Regions from separate parts of the Homo sapiens genome. Here regions 2 and 3 are each linked to region 1. Evidence: promoter capture Hi-C in 16 types of primary human blood cells and fetal thymus (Javierre and others, 2016). All regions are on one chromosome and are shown on one strand. The core of a region is centred on a gene start or on the middle of the fragment in contact, and the rest is flanking DNA. Distances in the headings are between cores, read along the strand shown.

Region 1 (2,922 bases), core at 143-2,642:
CCAGGGCTGCGCGGCCGCCGCCGGGGGCGCGTCAGGCGGAAGGGGGCGCCGCGGAGGACAGCAGAGGTTGCGGACGAGCGTCACGTGACTGCGGAGCGCTGAGCCCGTCACGTGACGCGGCCTAACCCCCCCCCCCCCGGATAGGGCGGGCCGCGCATGCGCCCCGGCGGCTGCCGCTGACACTGCGCCTACACAGGTTCGTTTTCTGGTTGACGAAGTACCCCGGGTTCCGAGTCCGGGTCTAGGTCCAGGCAGTCGAGCCCGTTTTCTTATCCCACAGTAGGCAGGGCGGCTAGGGAGTGTGGTGCTGCCCCGGTATCCCCGTGTGGGGCAGGAAGTGGGCTTCCAGATTCCCAGTATCCCCGGTAGGGTCTGCTTCTGCTCGCTCGGGAAGGGCGGTGGCCGTCCCATTACTCAACCAACCCTCAACGCACTGGTCCTCCCAGTTCCCTCCCCTCAGTGGGTAAACAAACACACACCAGCGCTTGACTCGACAGACTCGAAAACAACATCTACTCAGAAAAGTTGTTTCTTTCCTATCTCCTTAAACTTTCCCACTTCCACATATCGGAGCTTCTTCCCACCTCGGCCTACTCAAGCATGAGATCGGAGGCGGGAGGTGGGTTTCAACACAAAACCTTGGGTAGATGCAGTTTACTTTTGGGTGGACGTGTTGACACGTTTTGAGGCCTTACATTCGCTTAAGATCACAGAATTTCCTCAGTAGCCTTAGGTTTAAAAGTTCAAATTACAGTAAAAAAAAAAAACACCCTGAGTTTCTCTTCCTTTTCATAGTTCACCCACTGCTAAATTTCCTGTGTGTCCTTTCAGACGCTTTTCATATGCATTGCTGAGTATGTATAATATCTCTCCTAAAAAGCAACTGGGAACAACTTCCTGTTGTGCGTTTCGTCTTATTCACATTAACTTCTCCATTGCTACGCCTGGCTTGTTCATCCTCAGTGCGGCGTGGTCCCCCCTACGAATTGTCCCCATTTCTCAGAGGCGCCTGGGGCTTGGCCACGTTCCGTGAGACCAGGAGTTCGAGTCCGGTTCCTGCCCGCGGGTCGGGGCGGGAGGCTGGGCCAGATGGGCGGCAGGAAGTGCCAGGCGCTGACTTGCAGGCGGCACCCCCGCGGCTTGTAAACGCCGGGCGGACGCGGCACAGGCGGAGTACGCGCCTCGCAGCCGCATCTCCTTTCTGCTCCGCGAGGTGAGCGTCGCACGGACGCTTGACACCTCCCTTCCCGGGCCTAGGGCCCCCGCGCGCCGCGCCAAGCCCGGGGCGGAACAGGAAGAGGCGCCCAGTTCAGCCCGGGCCCCGCCTTCCGCCGCCGGGGGGAGGGAGCTGCGAGGGCGAGGGCGAGGACGGCGGCCCGCCCCGGGGAGGCAGGCTGGCAGGTGGACAGGCGGGCAAGGACAGCTCCGCGAGCCCCCTACAACTCGTTTCCTTCCGTTCACCTTCGCAGGGCGGCGACTGGCGGCGCGATGGACCTGACCGGGCTCCTGCTGGACGAAGAAGGCACCTTCTCCCTCGCCGGCTTCCAGGACTTCACGGTGAGTGGGGGTCCCGCCCCCTCCCCGGCCTCCCGGCGCGCCCCTCCCGGCCTGAGCGGCGCTGCGAGCTCGCCTGACTGCTGTGCCGGGACTGGGCGGCAGCTGCTCGAGCAGTGCTTCCTTGAGGCCGCGGCTGCTTGGGCCGGGAGGGAGAGCCGCGGAGTATAGGAATGGGCGTAGGGGTGGCCACACGAGGGCCCTTCTCGGAGAACTTCTCCCGGGGAACCCTCGATGGGGGTGGGGGCATTCCTCCCTCTATGGACCAGGCTGCCATTGGCAAGCGATTTACAGAACGCGGGTCTGGGTAAGGCACGGGCCCCCTAGCAGCGAGGCCGGCCTGTCCCCTGCCCCGCCTTCCAGCCCAGAGCCAGGATCTGCATCATACCTTTCCGTGCCCTTCACCCTCCGCTGCCCCTGCCCTGTTTCAGTTCCTCCCAGGACACCAGAAGCTGAGTGCCCGGATCCGAAGGAGGCTCTACTATGGCTGGGACTGGGAAGCCGACTGTAGCCTGGAGGAGCTCTCCAGCCCGGTGGCAGGTTAGGCAGTGTTGTGTGACTGGACAAGTGAGAAGCATGAAAATGGGATTGTCATCAGGCAGAAAATGGCTCGAGGTTTGCCCCGTGGCTACACTGTCTCTTCATTGCTAGCTCGTTGGTACTTGGTTCAAGAGGGCAGTTTGCATTTCCCATTCTTTTAGCCCAAATGAATAAAAAACATTGCTGCCACATATATCTATACAAATCACTCTTGATTTATATATTGAAAAGCTAATTTTCGAAGGATATCCATCATATGTTCCCCAAGTAAACAAGGCATGTTTATGCCACAGATGAACAGCAGTGACAGATAAATCTGGATAGTTTGATGTGACAGGGCAATAAGCTTTCCTGTTAGAATGAGCTGAAATTCGAACTTGGAATGGGCTTTTTGTCTCAGTGTGTGAGAATTTGATCTCTATTTTGTTACTATGGTCCTGTCCCCAAGGCCTCAGAAAATACAGATCTGGGTCTTCTGCTAGCAGTGGGGACTGGTGTGTTGGGTGTGGGTGCTTGTTTGCTCACTCGGCCTTCCTTCTGTCCCTTGCAGACATTGCTGTCGAACTGCTCCAGAAGGCAGCCCCCAGCCCTATTCGCCGACTCCAGAAGAAATATGTAGCTCATGTGTCCCGGTGAGCCTGGAAATGAGGATAGGATGAGAGTGTTTGGGCCCTAGAGAAAGGGGAATCGTCTTTTCTTTCTTTTCTTTCTTTCTTTTTTTTTTTTTTGAGACAGTCTCACTTTGTCACCCAGGCTGGAGTGCAGTGGCACAATCTCGGCTCACCGCAACCTCCGCCTCCTGGGTTCCAGTGATTCTTGTGCCTCAGC
Region 2 (2,922 bases), core at 248-2,747, 950 kb after region 1:
TTGCCTTACCAGCTAGCTACCTGTAAACTCAATGATTCCACTTTGTTTTAGGGGCTAGCAAACAAGATGCGCATGTTTTCACATTTATTTTTGTCTAACTTGCTCAAGACCTCTTAATCAAGTACGTATCTTTCCACGATCTCTGCTCCATTACCTGCGAAAGAAACGAAGACTAAGTTGCTCTCCAGGGATGCTGGGAAATAATGGAATATATAACATGGTTTATGAGTGTTAAAAAGCTGATATAGAAGCCAGACAATACCTTTCAAAAAAACTGGCTTCTATGAAGCATGCTAGCCCTGCTGAAAAATCAACCTATACGAATCATACAAAGCTTCACCTTGCTTCTTCAAAGCCCTATATGTGACTTAGGAAAAGCGCACTGGGTATCTCTACGAATTGAAGTATCAAGTGGGTTTACGGAGAAGCAGAGAGTTCAGAATAGAAGGAAAAAACTAGATGAAAATTTAAATTGCTTCTGAGCCTTCATTTTGAAACTGTAGCCAGGAAACAAAGGCAACGAGTCCAATACCATTCCTCACCTCTAGAAAACAAGAGCAAAGAACAAAAATATGGAAATGTTAATCATGGACCAACTGAATGAAATATTAAGAGGATGACCAATGGGAGGAAGCATGGAAGCATACTTTCCTGGGGAAGGCTGACTGTGCTGAAGAGTCAGGGAGTTTATAAAAGCCCATTATTACATCACTTAGTAAGTTTTTTTTTAACCTTTAGGTTTTAATTCAGCCAAAGAAGGGCTGAGTTCCTCACTCTCCTACTTTGTCAAAAGACCTGAGAAAAACCAACTATAAATAAATAACCTTTGGGCTCCAAGTCATACACACTTTGAGTCTCTAATTTCAAATTTCTCTAGGCATAAAGTATCCTGAGCACAGATCCTTGTGGGAAAAGTTGCTACGATCGATCTTAAGTGGTCTGCTGTCTGACTTAGCAATATTTGTCAAATCACATTCATTAATATTTTAGTTTACTATTTATGGCTAGAAGAGAGAGAATGGCTGCTGAGGAGAGTATTAGGCCAAAGGAGACTTCATGGGAAGTCTTCTGGGAGTTAGAGGTCCGAGAACTCAGTGCCTTAACGATGAGTTTGCTGAGCGTGAAGTATACCATCACAAGATTGCTTCTCAATTCCAAGACCTGGCGTTTGTTATTTTACTTCTGTGGTTTAAAATTACAAAGGAGCGGGAGGAAGACTGGCCCAGGAAAAGTGTTCCACTAAATAGGCCCCCAGAATTAATAGTTACATTATTTACTGTTCTACCAGCTGCTAAAATTTCAGATGCTGGGGGTGAGAAAAAGCAAGTTATTTAGAATTCAGAATTTATTGGCTATGTGACCACAGGCAATGCTCCTCAAATGTCACCGGGCCTCAGGTTCCTCTTCTACAAAATGGGGACAAAACATCTACCTCCCAGGTTGGTGTGAAGACTGAGATGATATATGTCCAGCAGTACAGCAGTCTCCCCTTATCTGTGGGGGATATGTTCCAAGACACCCAGTGGATAAATAAAAGTGTGGATAGCACTGAACTGTAGCAAAGAAACACCAAGGTCACTTTTTTTACTTAAAGGAATCACTTCATGGGTTCTCTTTGGCATATCCAAATTGCCAGCATCATTACTCCTGTACTTTGGAGCCATTATTAAGTAAAATAAGGGTAACTTGAACACAAGCACTACAATGCTGTGACAGTCAATCTGATAACCTAGACAGCTATTAAGCGACTAACAGAGGGTAGCGTACACACTGTAGATATGCTAGACAAAAAGATGATTCATGTCCTGGGCGGGACAGCGCAAGATTTCATTATGCTACTCAGAATGGTGCACAATTTAAAATTAATGGATTGTTTATTTCTGGGATTTTCCATTTAATATTTTCAGACCATGGTTCACTGCTCACTGCAGGTAACTGAAACTGCAGAAAGCAAAACCACAGATAAGGGGGGACTACTGTACAGCAAAGTTTCTCAAACGGTGTCTTTTAAGTTATAGATATGCTGAGGTAATGATCCCCATATCCCTTAGGGCAGGCAGCAGGTGGCAGGATCTCTGAGAGGCTAGACCATTTACCCAAATGTGCCATACAAATACAATCATGTTCTGTGTGCCATACGATAAACAAGGTCAAGAATCACAGTGAAGGATGCCTGCACGGTGCTTACTTAATATGTAGTAGTTACTTATTCAATATCTACCCCCACCCCCAATCCTCAAGAGCCCTGGTTTTCTCAGTTGTAAATGAGATCCACTATCTGTCACAGAAATGAAATGAAACCATGTTAAGGCATATAGCACAGTGCCTAGCTCATAGAAGGTAATCAATAAATTAGTTCTTCTCCTAGGTGGAGTCAGAGATCGGACTCTGAAGCTGTGGTTGGGAGAGGTTTTAGGATTGCGGTAATTCCCTGAATCAGGAATTGGTTAGCAGTACAAGGAAAAACAGAACTCCTATAAGTGTCAGACTGCTGTAATGTCTGGAATCCTAGAACAAGCCGGCTGGGTAAGTCCTCAGAGTTACTGCCTGGACAACCCAAGACACTAAAACATAATCAATTCATTCAGACAGGTTTTAAGAGCTATTCTTAAAACCCTTTAGAAAAAATTTTCTTCTATCTTTTCTCTAAGGAAGCTTCTAGAATGTCAATAATCAATCCAGAAAGGGCTTCTGGCAACTGTATTATCTCATCTTCTTTTCTCATTAACAACTTTGGGGTTTTTACTCCTGAATGCACCCTAGGATCCAATTCCCCATTTTTTTCTTTTTTCTTGAGATGGGGTCTCGCTCTGTCACCCAGGCTGGAGTGCAGTGGTGCCACCTCTGCTCACTGCAACCTCCGCCTCCTGGGTTCAAGTGATTCTCCAGCCTCAGCTTCCTGAGTAGCTGGGATTACAGGTG
Region 3 (2,922 bases), core at 110-2,609, 780 kb after region 1:
CCCCACCTTACCTGAGCACCCCTGCTCAGGACAGCCAGGGCCTGGGACCCAGGGCAGTCCACCCCTGCCCTCCCTCCATCCTCTCCACCCCCGTGGGTACGAAGTCCTCACTGCGGCTGGGCCCAGAGGCAGGGGTGCAGTCCCGCGGCCTGGGGCCAGTGTCCAGTGGCCATCTGTTTGCCCTGCCCCGCCCAGACCTCCGACCTGGAGCCCAGCAGCCTGATTGACAGATACCCCTCCCACCCCACCCCCCTCCGGCCCCCTGCAACTAGCCTTTCCACCTTGCCCTCAGTTCCGGGGCAGCCAGACCCAGGCGAGGGTGGGCAGACCTGGGGGCAGCGTCCAGATCCTGAGGTCCACACGGGGAAAAGGAGAAGACAGACCCCCCCACCCCGGCCCAGCCACGCTGGGGGACGCAGCCTCGTCGGGGCGGCGAGGCTTTGCGGGGTGGTGCGTGCCCACTAGGCGCACGACTCTCCCCGCGGGCGCCAAGCGACTCTTGGAAGTGCCGGCCGTCCTCTCTGTGCCTCCGAGGGGGTCGGCGCCTCCACGCGTGACGCGAAGTTTGTGGGGAACGTAGCTGTGTGTTGGCGGGAGATCCCTCCAAGCCTCCCCAGCCTGCTGTCACCTCGGCGCCCCCTCCCAAGACCCTACCGGACCGCAGCCCGGGGGGGTGGGGGTGGGGGGTGGGGCGGAGTCTCAGCGGGTGGCCCATAGGCGCCCTCCTCAGCTCCCCCATCTCCCAGCCCCATTGGCGCCAATGGTGGGGGGGCGCCCATGCACCACGCAATGCCTGCCAGGAAACCCCCGAAGAGTTCCCTCTCTATTCCTGCCTCAGTTTCCTCACCTCGAGCGAACAGGAGCGCCCCAAAGGCGCCAGGCCCCGCCCCGCGTCTCTGAGCCTCCTCTGAGTTCAAACTCTCTCCCTGCTCCCTCTCGGGCTGGGAGCTTCGGGCACAGCTAAGGCGGCCGCCCGGGGCGGCGGCGGCGGCTCCCCTGGGGAAGATCCCGGCCCCTTCTCTCCTCCCACGGCGCCCCGGCTTCGGCCCCCTCCCCGCAGCCCCGGTACCTTTGCCCCGCAGCGGGCCCCGAGCCTCCTCCTTGCTGATCTGAGTAATGACGGCCGAGCTGTCCATGGGGCCGGGCGCGCTCCGCTCCGGCCGGACTCTGGCCCGGGCGCCCGGCCTCCCCCCCGGCTGGGGCCGGAATCGGGGCGCGGGGGGGAGGGGAGGGGTGGGAGGGAGGGATCCCCGCGAGCTCCGGAGGGGAGGGGAGCCAGGTTCTAGGGGGGAGGGGGAGGGAGGGGGCGCGGAGGAAACTTTGTTACAACATGGAGTTTCCTTCCCGCGAGGCGGATGCAAACATGGAACCCAGGCGCCGTTTCAAGGCTCCCCCTTAAAAGGGCAACGGCTTCGGCGTGACCTGGACTCGGCTGCGGCTTTCGCCACTTCTGGGACCGGCGCGGCTAGGCGGACTGGGAGGCGGGCCGGGCCGGGTTCCTGCCGCGCTCCAGGGGGCGTCGCCTCCCTTCCTGCCGCCCGCCGGCGGGGCTGAGTCTCTGCGGCTGCGTGGCAGGCCCGGCACCCGGCTCACCGTTCCAGGCCGCCGAGCGCCCTCGGCCAAGGCCCGCCCGCCGGGAGCGCCCACGCCGGGGAGTGCCCGAGTGCGGCGCGGCTCCACCTCTGCGTTTTCTGAAGACCCGGGACTAGAGGCTTCTCGGTTTCCTCGTTGAGGACTTGGAGATAGCACTACCTCATCTGTAAAATGGGTCTTCTCTCCTGTCTGGTGGTCGCAGAGATCACCTCGCAAGGACGTCAAGAGCCAGCGAAGGCTCTGCTGGCCCGAAACAGCTGTGCAAACCTCAGAATCACGCTCTTGAATGGGACGGTCGCCGCCCCCCGCAGCCCCAGGGCGAGGTGCCCCCGGTCTGTAGGACGTGAAATTCTAACTCTCTGCCCTGGGAAAGCCCCCTGCCGACCTCTCCCCACGGCCCCACCCGGGGCCCCGCACGTCTACCCGCCGCGCACGGGCCACCGCGCGTTCCCGCCTGAAGTTTTCGTACGCGCTGTTCCTTTCGCGTAGCCAAATTCCACCGACCTCGAGGAAATGCCACCTTCTCCAGGGGCCTTCCCAGACCCCCTCCCCTGCCCGCGGTCGACGGCCGCCCTGTGATTACTGGGGGTGCGGTGGGAGTCACTGGACTCGCTGCCGATCCTAGGAGCCCAGCACGGCGCCGCACGCGGTGGGCCCAAAGCCCGACCGTGGGGGACCTCAAACCAGAGGCCCTCAAGGCCCGTTCCACCCGGCCTGTGGCGCAGTGCTGGGCACTTGGGAACGGAGGTCCCTGTCTTCTCGCTGCAAGCCCCTCCGTGGTGCGCGCCGTGGGTCTGCGGGTTGGTCTTTTTCCTCGTTTATGAAGTTCTTTTCACTCGTCGTTACTATTTTGTAAGTTCACCATTTAAAAATTAATAATGCCAAGCCCGACAAACACCCCTCGGCACTTCCTCCCCTCCCCCTCTCCCGCGGGCCTCCGTGGCGGGGCGGGGCGGGCGCGTCCTGTCCCGTCCGGCCGCCGGGTGCGACGCGGCGCACGTCCGCCAGGCCCTGCCGAGGGGGAGCCGGGGAGGGGAGGCCCCGCGCGGGGGCCGGGAGGGGAAGGGAGGGGAGCGGCGTCTGCCAGAAGGCGCGGCGGCTTCGTGCGCTGAGGCTGGGAGTAGGGGCGGGAGGGGACTGTCGGGGACTGATACCCCGGTCCCCGGGCTGGATCCCTCGGCCCTCCTCCTGCTCCTGGGTAGCCCACGGGGCGGCCACCATTGCGCTTCATCACCGTGATCGCCACACGCTGCTGGCGTTTTCCTAGGCCTGCTCTGGCTGCGCCCCCTAATCTCATTTACCCCTTAGAACGGCCTCCTTCTTAACCCA

What was found. Contacts are between HindIII fragments. The CHiCAGO score rates a contact against its expected background, and 5 or more counts as called.
Region 2: a contact is called between a fragment that was not itself captured here and the fragment with the promoter of CNPPD1 in region 1, in 9 of 17 cell types (activated CD4 T cells, naive CD8 T cells, total CD8 T cells and 6 more). The highest score is 10.2, in activated CD4 T cells.
Region 3: a contact is called between the fragment with the promoter of CTDSP1 here and the fragment with the promoter of CNPPD1 in region 1, in 10 of 17 cell types (non-activated CD4 T cells, naive CD4 T cells, naive B cells and 7 more). The highest score is 13.0, in non-activated CD4 T cells.

The regions. Positions count from the first base shown.
Region 1 is chr2:219,175,395-219,178,316 of GRCh38, reverse strand. It overlaps CNPPD1 (cyclin Pas1/PHO80 domain containing 1), which reads left to right and starts at 1,392. Exons shown (of 8, transcript NM_015680.6): 1 at 1,392-1,557; 2 at 1,986-2,094; 3 at 2,645-2,726. The coding sequence starts at 1,489. RETREG2 (reticulophagy regulator family member 2) reads right to left here and starts at 42. Exons shown (of 9, transcript NM_024293.6): 1 at 1-42. RefSeq lists silencers at 1-7, 1,128-1,177, 1,248-1,457, 1,578-1,637, 1,476-1,770 and 1 more and an enhancer at 1-347. The HindIII fragment of the contact is 4,554 bases long and covers 1-2,442 here.
Region 2 is chr2:218,222,139-218,225,060 of GRCh38, reverse strand. The region is part of intron 2 of ARPC2 (actin related protein 2/3 complex subunit 2); the gene reads right to left. Among named protein-coding and RNA genes, the nearest start is that of ARPC2, 6.4 kb to the right of the region's middle. RefSeq lists a silencer at 2,192-2,241. The HindIII fragment of the contact is 2,321 bases long and covers 337-2,657 here.
Region 3 is chr2:218,398,305-218,401,226 of GRCh38, reverse strand. It overlaps CTDSP1 (CTD small phosphatase 1), which reads right to left and starts at 1,359. Exons shown (of 7, transcript NM_021198.3): 1 at 1,070-1,359. The coding sequence starts at 1,136. RefSeq lists silencers at 912-1,071, 1,232-1,311, 1,382-1,751, 2,442-2,711. The HindIII fragment of the contact is 4,794 bases long and covers 1-2,922 here.